Linked DNA regions of Homo sapiens: regions 2, 3 and 4 are each linked to region 1. The links are contacts of gene promoters, found by promoter capture Hi-C in blood cells and fetal thymus (Javierre and others, 2016). All regions are on one chromosome and are shown on one strand. The core of a region is centred on a gene start or on the middle of the fragment in contact, and the rest is flanking DNA. Distances in the headings are between cores, read along the strand shown.

Region 1 (2,565 bases), core at 40-2,539:
CCAGTAGCCATCAATCTGCTTTAACCACTGTTTTACAAATCTGATAAACATGGCTCACAGCAAGAATTCTCAACTCCTCAAGACACACATATGTGTTCCAGGCATCCTTCCCTAAGTGTGCGCCCACTGATGCATAAAGTCTACCAAGATTGTCGTTAATATACTTTAACTTTAACCTAGGGCTTCCTTAAAGTCAGCATCTGTGGCAGAGAACAAACCCTTTCAGCTATTAAGACAGAAAGTAAGCTCAGTAAAATTGGAGAATGACATTTTCAAATACCATTACCCAAACTTTGTACCTTTAGTGACCATATCCTTATTTCACTTGAAGTATGCAAGCAACAGCTTTCAAAAGGGGTATCTAATTGAGATAACTTTATATTAAATCTGTACGAAGTCATACAACCTACCTTGTAAGGCCAAAGGAATAGCTTCAATCTGGATCTTGGTGGGTTTTGTCCATCCCAACTGGTCACAAGCTTCACACAACACATCTGTCACACCCTTGGAATTCAGAAAAATATACCTTAGCCAAGAACAGCACACCCCTACCTCCCTCCTACTTAACTGACTGTCAGACCCATCATGTACAACCATTGTATTTGATTTAAAAGGTATTTACTGTGCATCTCAGAGCCTACTCTTTAACTATACCATGAGACAGTAGCTCAAGACTTAACGAACACTTTCTGCTCACCAAGGCCAAGGCCAGGTGCTTTACATGTATCATCTCATTTAATCGTCACAACAATTCTGCGAGGTAAGTACTTATTACTATCCCCAATTTACAGATGTGGAAAGAGAAACACAGAGAGGTAACAACTTGTCCTCAGTAAGAGACTGTGTCAAAATTCAAATCTGGTTGGTTCATCTGACTCCAAAGCTCCAGTTATAAAGAGACCAATTCCATTCCCCATATGTACAACCTCCTGGATGCACATACAAACGTTGCCACACTAAAGTGGCGAATAGGGCAAATAGGGGGTCTCAGGGCCCAGCAGCCCTCCCACCACCCAAACTCAGAGCACGTCCGAAACCCAGCCCTCTGAAATTCTGGGGAAAACCCAAGCTAGGCCCCAAGATGCTTTTGTACACTATCAGAGCGGGATCTAAGGTACCTGGGGTCTCCCTGAGCCTAGCACCAGAGTACATAAAAGAAGCCAGCGTCATCCATTCTCACCAGGTCTTTAAATGTTTTAGTTTCCTCCTCTTCCACAATCGGCTGGGACGCTTCGGTCGGAGAATCGTGTTCCTCGGGTGCCGCCATCTTGTGTGAGGTCTCCGGAAGTGGGTCTGCGGCGCGCGGGATGCTGGGAAATGTAGTTTTAGTTCTCCCCGGACGACGTGCTCTGCGCGCCCCCTGCGGGCTTGCCGGGGATTGCACCCGTCCGCTAGGCAGGTGGGGCCCAGTGAATATGGGCGCGTAGGCTTGCGGAATAGATCCGAGTGCAGAAGGGGCTGATCACCAGGGACTCCAGTTGACCTTTAGGTCCCTTTTAAAGAGCCTTCCCTACGTGTGTCGCCAGTTATGTTCCCCGCTTTTCTAACCATAGAGTTTGGAACGGATTGATATTACAATACTATTTTTTTATTATGTCATTACTTTATTCAATAATGTTGAGAACCTACCATTTGCTAAGGCTATGCTAGATGGCTGGTGAATAGGACAGCGACCCCTGCCCTCGTGAAGAAAAAGAAGACAGATCATAAATAAGCTATCACAGAGCATTTCAAATTGTGAAAAGTAGCTGGGTGTGCTCACGCCTGTAACCCCAGCACTGTGGGAGGACGAGGCGGGCGGATCACTTGAGCCCAGGAGTTCGAGACCAGCCTGGGCAACGTGGCGAAACCCTGTGTCTGCAAAATGCAAAAATCAGTCAGGCATGCATGGTGGCATGCGCCTGTAATCCCAGCTATTCAGGGGGCTGAGGTTGAGGGATCAGTTGACCCCGGAAGTTGAGGCTGCAGTGAGTGGAGATGGTGCTACTGTACTCCAGCCTGGGCAACAGAGTGAAACCCTGTTCACATAAAAATTACAGAGTAACCTGGGGAGGGTGGGTTGTGGGGATAACTGTGAGATTGGGAAGGCCTCTCTGAGACAGTGATATTTGAGTTAAGACCTCACTGTTGAGCAGGAGAAAACGCTTTAAGATCCCAGGAGATAATCATTCCAGAGTGAGAGAATTCCAAGTACCAAGACTGTGAAGCTACTAAGGCTATTCTGGAAAGCAGCAAATTCAGAGCTGTATGTTGCATGCCCCATGGCCAGCGAGTGCCCTCCTGTGGCCTGTCACTTGGGTCTCACACTGCGCAGGGTGCTCGTTGCAGTTTTATTCCTGAGGATGGGAAGTTGGGGGCAATCTGGTGTCCGTCACTGGGAAAATGCATAGTTAAAATGTGAACATGGTGTCTACAAACATGCCCTTAACAATATGATTAGATCTGAAAAACCTAGTGCTTAGTGAGAAAAGCATAAAATATATCAAGTATATTAAAATATAGGCCCACAGATATCACATTCTGCTAAAACACATCCAACAGAAGATACACTTGAAATATTTTAGA
Region 2 (2,565 bases), core at 29-2,528, 230 kb before region 1:
TTTTTCTAAAGCCTAATGTTTAAAATTTACTTGGGTGGAATAAATATACTTTTATTTAAATATCAACTTTCTAACAGTACAATCCTACTCTGGAGGTTTAGGAGGAAAAAAAAAAAAAAAGGAAAAAAAACTTGGAGCTGCTGCCCGAAGTACTGAATCAGCTCTGGAAGTTGTCATCACCCCTAATGCTGCCTTAAAGAAGATTCCATACATTATCTTCAACTTATAGGTGCCAAATCATTTCCCATGCTTAATCTCGGCAGCTGGAGACTGACCAAGTGGAATCAAAAGCTCAGGATTTAGAGTGAAAAGACCCCTGACGTTCAAGGCCGAGCTTTCCCAATACTTGTGAGACCTTGGACAATTCACTTAGCCAAATAACTCTCATTTTCTCTTCTGTAAACTAGGAAGGGACGTAAATACCTGTCCCACCTGCCTCATGGATGCGTCGTTGCTGCCGTTAGGTGGAGGGGATGATCCACAGAGGGCCACTCGCCGTCCCGCCGCCCCCGCCCAGGTCCAGCCAAGACAGAAGGCGCCGGAGTCCCTGCGGTGCTGGGTCCGCGGCGCTCGGGAAGGATGCTCCTCTCGCCAGCCTCCCCTCGGGACAGCGGCGACCGGCGTTCTGACATTCCCCGCCGTAACACCTGCTCGGCGCCCTCTCCCCGCGCGTCTCCGGGTTCGCCCCGCGCCCGAGACCCCTGCCCCGCTGGGCGCCCCTCTCGCCCTCTGGTGGCACAGAGACCCCAGCCCCAAGGGACTGCACCCTCCTCGGCACCGGGCGCCTGCAGCTGAGTCTGGGTTGAGGCCAGGGCCCGACCGGCCTCGCCCCCAGAGCCTCGCCTCCCCTTATTCCAACACCGGCGGGGACTGGGTGGTCGCAAGCATGCGACTCCTTACCCGGCAGCTTGAGCGCCCTGGACAGCACGGTCGCCATGGCTGAGGCCCCGGTGCGCGTGCGCGCGCCCGCGTTCTGCCGGGAAGTGTAGTTCCGAGCGGCGGTGCGTGGGGCTGGGACCGGGAAAGGTGGGACCCGCTTGCTGGGGACAGAGCTGAGGGAGGCCAAGCCAGAGTACACGCTCCGCAGGCTTTTCTCCCACCCTACCTATGCAGGTCACCTCACCACTCTGAGTCTCACTTGCCTCGTCAGTGAAATGGGGAGAAAATACCCCGTAAGCTTGCAGTGAAAATGATTCGAAGGAGATATTTAAGGAGGTGTGGATTGTGCAATGTGCGTGGGCTTTGAAATCAGGCAGACTGGATTTGAATCCTGCCTGAATCACTTACTAGCTGGGCCATCTTGGGCAAGTCCCTTGGGGCGACTGAGCTGCCGCTGCTTTTTTTTAATTAAAGACATACTACCTACTTCACAAGCTTGCAATGAGAATTAAATGATACGACCTGTTTAAAACACACAGCACACAGTAGGCACCTAGTAAGAGTGTTTCTATTACGCTTCTTAGGTAGAAGTTGAAGTTTCCTGGAGCTCGAACCCTCATTTATTGCTCCCAGTTCTTTACAGGTGTCTACTCAGCACCCTACGCTGCAGCTTCTAGTTGAAGGGTGTAGAAGGAGGATCCGACTGTGTACATACATCCAATAGATGCAGCATCTCCAGCTCCTCAGATTTCAATGCTTGACCTTTAAGGCATCTGCACGCTCCCCGTAATCACCCCAGCTTTGCCTGAATGATTTTTGCGGAGAGCCCGATGCCCAGGAATTCCTCCTTCCTTGGCTCCCTGAGCTTTCCCCCACTTTGTCTTCCTTGTCCCTCTGGAAATCTCCTTCATCCCTCCATAACTTTTTTCCATTTTAACATAGGAACTGCAGCTTAGAATAGTATTTCTCAAATTTAATGTACTTTCTTTTCAATTAAAGAAAAAAATTCAAAGCAGCTGCCAAATGAATCAGGATCCTTACCTTTTACATAGAGAATACCTGTGTGTTCCTCTCTAGCTACTGAGTGGAATGTGAATACTTTTGCTGCCCAAACACCCACTGAGGTCACTGTGGAAAATGCAAACACCCAGGCCCTCTCTGACTTCTGAACTTGGCTTGCCTCAGGACCAGGCACAGTGGTGTAGAAGGAAGAACTGACTTGCTTCTTTCCCACACGCAAGTGATCAGCATTTTAGTGCAGGAATGCTAATACTGTGTTATCTTAGAACTGGAACAGATCCTAGAGGCTATCTAGTCCCACTCTCCTTGTTTTGTTTAAGAGAAAGCTGAGAAATAGAAAGGTAATGTAACTTCTGAGTGTCACAACAAAAGCTCCAAGATACATCTCATTTGCAGGCTGCCTAATTCCCGTGAGAAACTGCAGACAGGACTATCCTGTGGGAGTAATCTGAGAGTCTCCAGCAATCAGTCTCACCTCCTTTCTTCCCTTGGAAAAAAAAAATGTCATTGTCTCTGATAGAGCACAGGCTCTGGAGCCAGGAGCCAGGCCTCCCGAGATCAAATCCTGACTCTATCATTTCCTAGATGCCAGGCAGAGGGTTAGTTGCTTAATTTCTCCCCACCTCAATTTTCTCATCTGCAAAATGGGGACAAAACAGTTCCTAG
Region 3 (2,565 bases), core at 29-2,528, 190 kb before region 1:
ATATAGCTGCAAGGAGACATTTTCTGTTCCCTTACCTGCCCTTCATGTCTACCACTTTTTGGTGGGTAGGGGTGGGAGTCAGGGGACAGAACTGCTTTGGCACAGAGTTGATTTAAGATACAGAGAACAGGCTGGGCACAGTGGCTCACACCTGTAATCTCAGCACTTTGGGAGTCCAAGGCAGGTGGATCAACTGAGATCAGGAGTTTGAGACCAGCCTGGCCAACATGGTGAAACTCCTTCTCTACTAAAAATACGAAAATTAGCCAGGTGTGGTGGCAGGTGCCTGTAATCTCAGCTACTTGGGAGGCAGAGGCAGGAGAATTGCTTAAACCCAGGAGGCAGAGGTTGCAGTGAGCCGAGATCGCACCACTGCACTCCAGCCTGGGAGACAGGATGGGTGAGACACTGCCTCAAAATAAAAAATAAAAATAAATACAGAGAACAAATTTCTAGAAGGAACAGACTGGTGTTCTGGAGCATTTCCCAGGAGTGGTCCAGGTGACCTCCACTTCACACAATTTGGTTTAACACAATGCTGCTCAACAAGAATGAACACGTTTATGCCCCCATCTCCAGAAGCATCACAACCTTTCATGGAAAACCCATTATTCCCACACTATTTCCATATAACATACAGTTATGGACCATCCCATGGGATGGTCCATGGCCCCACTGCACCCTTGTGAAAAATGAGAGTCAAAAACATGCCAATAATCATGTTAATGACAATACAGGTGGGTACCACTCGCACTTCACTGAGATAAAAATCCTCATGGAAGGCATCCCCCTCACGTCTCAGGACCCTTCAGAGCACAAGAAAAAGCTTTGTTCAGGTTGTATGCTGCTCTCCATCCTGAGACCTGTTCCTGAGCCACACCATAACAATAAGTGAATTAACAAAGAAGTACATTTGTGGGGAAGTTACAGGGACCCTGCAGAAAAGCCAAACTATTTGACAGAAGCTTGAAACAAACACTGCTCTGGGAAATCATTTGTATTAGCTGATGACTGGGCTCTGTTTTCTAAAATGGACATGCAACATATTCGATACTATGCTTACCACAGTTTGCTTGGTAAACCCTTCTGTCATACAACAAAATACATTCTTTCTCATGAATGATTGCTGAATATTCACCACGAGACCTAGACTCGGAAGCATGGAAAGTGTGCATTGGAACTTTCTCCCACTTGCATGGATTTGGACATGTGCTAAGAACCTGAAACTGCTTCCTTTCTGGAACTCAATTCTGTCAGTGTGCTTACTGCTGAGATGATCTGCTATCTTAAACTGAGAACACACAATAACACTGATCCACAGAAAAAAGGAGAGGTCACCATCTCCCTCATAAGATATGTTGTACATCAGGTCATGCTGTTTGTCACGTTTTAGCCATCCTAAGAAAGGACAGAAGCTGCATTCCATTCTGCAGTCTTGGCAAATGACTTTCTTCTGTTTCCACCTCTATTTTGCCTTGTTTATTTCATCTCCATTATCCCTCTTTCAGTCATGAATCATGACTTTTTTTTCTACAGTAGTCAGAGTTTTGTAGGACAAACTCAGGTCTCTCTGGCCTCTCAGCAAGCTTCAGGGCTTCATGCATGCCTGCAGCTGAGAGTGTCTGGTTGATATTCTGGTACTGGCACTGGAGCCGGCTGCAATAGGTGGTCCTCAGGTCCCAGTTGAAGAAGGCATAAATAAAAGGGTTAATGAGAGAGTTTGCATAGCCCAGCCATGGAAATATCCTCTCCACCCACAGTGGGATGCAGCTGCAGGCAGTGCCATAGACAGAAGGGTCTGGCTGTCAGGAGGAAAAAGGGCGGCCAGCACATGGTGGAGGCCCAGACGATGATCCCCAAGGTAGTCGCTGCTTTCTGTTTCCGCTTAAAGATGGAGATATTTTTTCCTTTCATGCTTGAGGAGTCTCGAAAGGTTTGCACACTCTTCCACCTCCTGGAACTTCACTGTGCCATTCAGGGTGACTACTGCTGTCTGGCTCCACTCGAGGGAAGCCAGGTAACCTGTGTTAGGCCGCGCTTTTCCTGGCGGCCTTGTAAATCTGTTAGTACATGAAAAGCATGACGCACATGGGGATTAGGATGCCACTGCGGTGGAGTAAATCGTGTAGCCAAAGTCTTGACTGACCAAGCACACCTTATCATCGTTTACATTCTGAGCCCGACCAAAAATGGTAGGTAAAGTGACAAAGGCGGAAAGAAGGCAGACAGAAAGAATCATCTTCGTCATGCATTTCCCCTTCTGCCTCATAGGGTACGTGAGAGGCTTCATGATCCCAAGGTACCTGTCGATGCTGATCACGTACAAGGTCAAGATCCAGGCCGTGCAGCACATGACATTCATGGAGAAGACGTTACAGAAAAAGTGTCCAAAGATCCACTTGCCCCCGATGAGGTCGGTGACACTGATGAAGGGCATGACCGCCATGGCCACCGAGAGGTTGGCCAGCGCCATGGACACGATCAGGTAGTTGGAGGGCTGGCGGAGCTTCTTGACGAAGCACACGGAGATACCACCAGGCAGTTGCCCGCGATCGCAGAGAGATG
Region 4 (2,565 bases), core at 40-2,539, 170 kb before region 1:
AGCCTCTCAAGTAGCTGGTACTACAGTTGCACACAACCACACCTGGCTGATGGTACATTTTTAAGCTTTTATTAATCTGTGAATTTCTTTACCAACACAACTTTACATTCTTCCTTTCCATCTGTGGATCATTTGTCTTCTTATTATCTGTACTGGATTTTGCTGATTATATTTCCGTGACATTTTACCACATCCCTCTGAGCCCCGTATTGCCTGTAAATTAGTAGTTGAAACTAAAGACTAGATCAGATTCAAGTTTTTGAAGTTTTGGTGAGAATATTTCCTACGTGGTGGTGTTTACTTCCTTCAGGGGCCCACAGTGTCTGATTGTCCCTGATTGAGTGATGTTGGTGACCATAGTTCATCATTGCCTAGATGTCTTGTTCCATTAGAGGCCATAAAACGATAATGTTCTCTGTTTCTCCTTCTTCTTTTATTACCTGCAATATTTCAGTAAAGAGAAACTTCCCCTCGTTTACTATTTGGCTTCCTTTATTTCATATAGAAAAAGCCAGATACATGCTTACTTGATACCTTCTCTTTATTTACCAGTTTTCAGAATGATAATTTCATTCTGTAACATCCTCAAGGTAAAGTGGTCTGCATCTTCGTTTTTTGAGTGTAATTATAAACATATGAATTTAAACATATTTGATACGTTTCAGTTTGTTACAGATATTATTCTTATTGATGCTCTAATTGCCCCACTGTTGGCCAGCGGGAGCCTCTTCAAGTTGGTTTGTTGGTCCTTTTGACACAGCTCCAGTAGTCGTTGATGGCTCCCTGGCTTGCTGGTATAATGAGATGTTTTGAGCACATCTTAGCATTTCTTGCCCTAGAGCTAGAATTAGCCATTTCTCTAAGGAACGCTGGTTTCTTATGGTGGGAAGGGGTATACGGGTACTATCAAAGGCAGGTCGGTGACCATTTCCTTTTAATTCTCTGAAATCTAAACAGCTGAAAGTGCCAAATGTGGTGTCTAGCCTGGCTCCATGGAATTTTTAACACGGAGTTCTCACACAGCATATGATCATTCCTCAACTCGCCACTTGATGTCACTGCATAGTCAAATGAGCATTCAAAATTACCCTGCAGTGGTTTGTGTTATTTCTGATTCTGTTGAAAGCAATGTTAATGAGATGGTAGAAGGCAAATGTACTACTTCAAATGCAAAAGTACTCTATCAAATAATGCAGTGAGTGCATTCAATGACAAAATTAATTCTAAAATGAAAGCCTGGCGTCCTTCATTCAGTCTTCCTTCTTTATGACCTTGTGAAGAGATGTTTACAAAGGGATTATACATTTATTAGCATCGTTAATTACCGGTGCTTTTAGATGAATAGAATGCTGTGAAAAAAAATAGCACTATCAGAATATGTTTAGTATTCACAAGAGGCAATAGAATTATCCTCACACTTAGACCAGCAGCAACATTCCAGACTACTGTCCTTTCTCTATGCACTTAAGTTAGAGTTTGGCCTTTTCAGCTCATTTCAGCACCAGGTTCTCAATAGGGACCAACAGCAGGAGAAGTTTGATGGTCTTAATGAAACTTTCACGGTTTAAATGAAATGTCTAGATATAAAGGAAAAAGTTGGAAACCAGGAGTTTATTTTCAGGGTAACCTATGCTCCAACCCAGTTCATCATTCAGTGGCCATAGGACCTTTGGTATATTGCCAGCCTCACTGTACCTCAGTTTCCTCATCTGTAAGATGGGCATGAGTACCTAGCTTTTATGGTGTTGTGAGGATAAAATATGATAATACCTGTAAATACCTACTCAATCCTAGACATGAGGTAGACACTCAGTAAATGTTAGCCTATTCTCCTCCTCCTAACTTCACCTCCCTTTGAGAATTTGATCAAGTTTTATTAGAATTAACAATAAAAAAGTCAAAGTTACTGCAGATACACTTGGGTTAGAACCTCAGCTCCAATAATTATGAATTTTGTAACTTGCAGCAAGTTGTTTAATCTTTCTGAGCCTCAGTTTTCTCATCTATAAAATAAGATTTCTAAGGCATGATTGCAAAGGCCGGTTTCATTGTGCATTTGAAAGAACTTTGTCAGCTGTCAGCACCTAGGTTGCTGATGTCATTTTTCCCTCTAAATGACCAGGCCCCAATGGAGGCCATTGGCAGCTTGGGAAGTTCCGCCTAGAGAAAGAGAAGTTTGGAAGAAAGAGCTCAACTGCTAAACTCTTAGGGGGTTCCCACATTACCACTTAGGAGATTTACAGACCAGTGTTTGCCCATGTTCCTAGATAATTCAACCCTGTTTGTAACCACAGGAAGTTGGGACCAAGGGTTTTCAGTCTTAGCACCCTGCTTTGCCCCCTCACTTTGATTAAAAGGGGCCTTGTCCAGCCGTTCTATTGAAAATAGCACCCTGTCCTTTTCTGTCCTCTTATCCAGCTTTATTTTGCTTTGCTTCACTTATAATCAATTGCATTATATATCTCTATCTGCTCATTTATTTATTGCCCTCTCCCCACTAGAATGCAAGCTTCCCAAGGGCAGGGCCTTTGGCTAGAATATAACAAGTGTTCAATAAGAAGCTGT

The links. The method cuts DNA at HindIII sites, captures the fragments that hold promoters and counts their contacts. A CHiCAGO score of 5 or more calls a contact.
Region 2: a contact is called between a fragment that was not itself captured here and the fragment with the promoter of DDX47 in region 1, in 2 of 17 cell types (total CD8 T cells and naive CD4 T cells). The highest score is 5.8, in total CD8 T cells.
Region 3: a contact is called between a fragment that was not itself captured here and the fragment with the promoter of DDX47 in region 1, in 1 of 17 cell types (naive CD4 T cells). The highest score is 5.7, in naive CD4 T cells.
Region 4: a contact is called between a fragment that was not itself captured here and the fragment with the promoter of DDX47 in region 1, in 3 of 17 cell types (endothelial precursors, megakaryocytes and naive CD4 T cells). The highest score is 9.9, in endothelial precursors.

What each region holds. Positions count from the first base shown.
Region 1 is chr12:12,812,070-12,814,634 of GRCh38, reverse strand. DDX47 (DEAD-box helicase 47) reads right to left here and starts at 1,289. Exons shown (of 12, transcript NM_016355.4): 1 at 1,181-1,289; 2 at 411-504. The coding sequence starts at 1,267. RefSeq lists an enhancer at 1,153-1,462. The HindIII fragment of the contact is 15,992 bases long and covers 482-2,565 here.
Region 2 is chr12:13,042,776-13,045,340 of GRCh38, reverse strand. FAM234B (family with sequence similarity 234 member B) reads right to left here and starts at 960. Exons shown (of 13, transcript NM_020853.2): 1 at 901-960. The coding sequence starts at 937. The HindIII fragment of the contact is 197 bases long and covers 1,180-1,376 here.
Region 3 is chr12:13,001,774-13,004,338 of GRCh38, reverse strand. All of the region lies in intron 2 of GPRC5D-AS1 (GPRC5D and HEBP1 antisense RNA 1), which reads right to left. It also overlaps the pseudogene HTR7P1. Among named protein-coding and RNA genes, the nearest start is that of HEBP1, 2.8 kb to the right of the region's middle. RefSeq lists an enhancer at 2,010-2,555. The HindIII fragment of the contact is 621 bases long and covers 968-1,588 here.
Region 4 is chr12:12,982,128-12,984,692 of GRCh38, reverse strand. All of the region lies in intron 3 of HEBP1 (heme binding protein 1), which reads left to right. All of the region lies in intron 2 of GPRC5D-AS1 (GPRC5D and HEBP1 antisense RNA 1), which reads right to left. Among named protein-coding and RNA genes, the nearest start is that of HEBP1, 17 kb to the left of the region's middle. The HindIII fragment of the contact is 2,444 bases long and covers 68-2,511 here.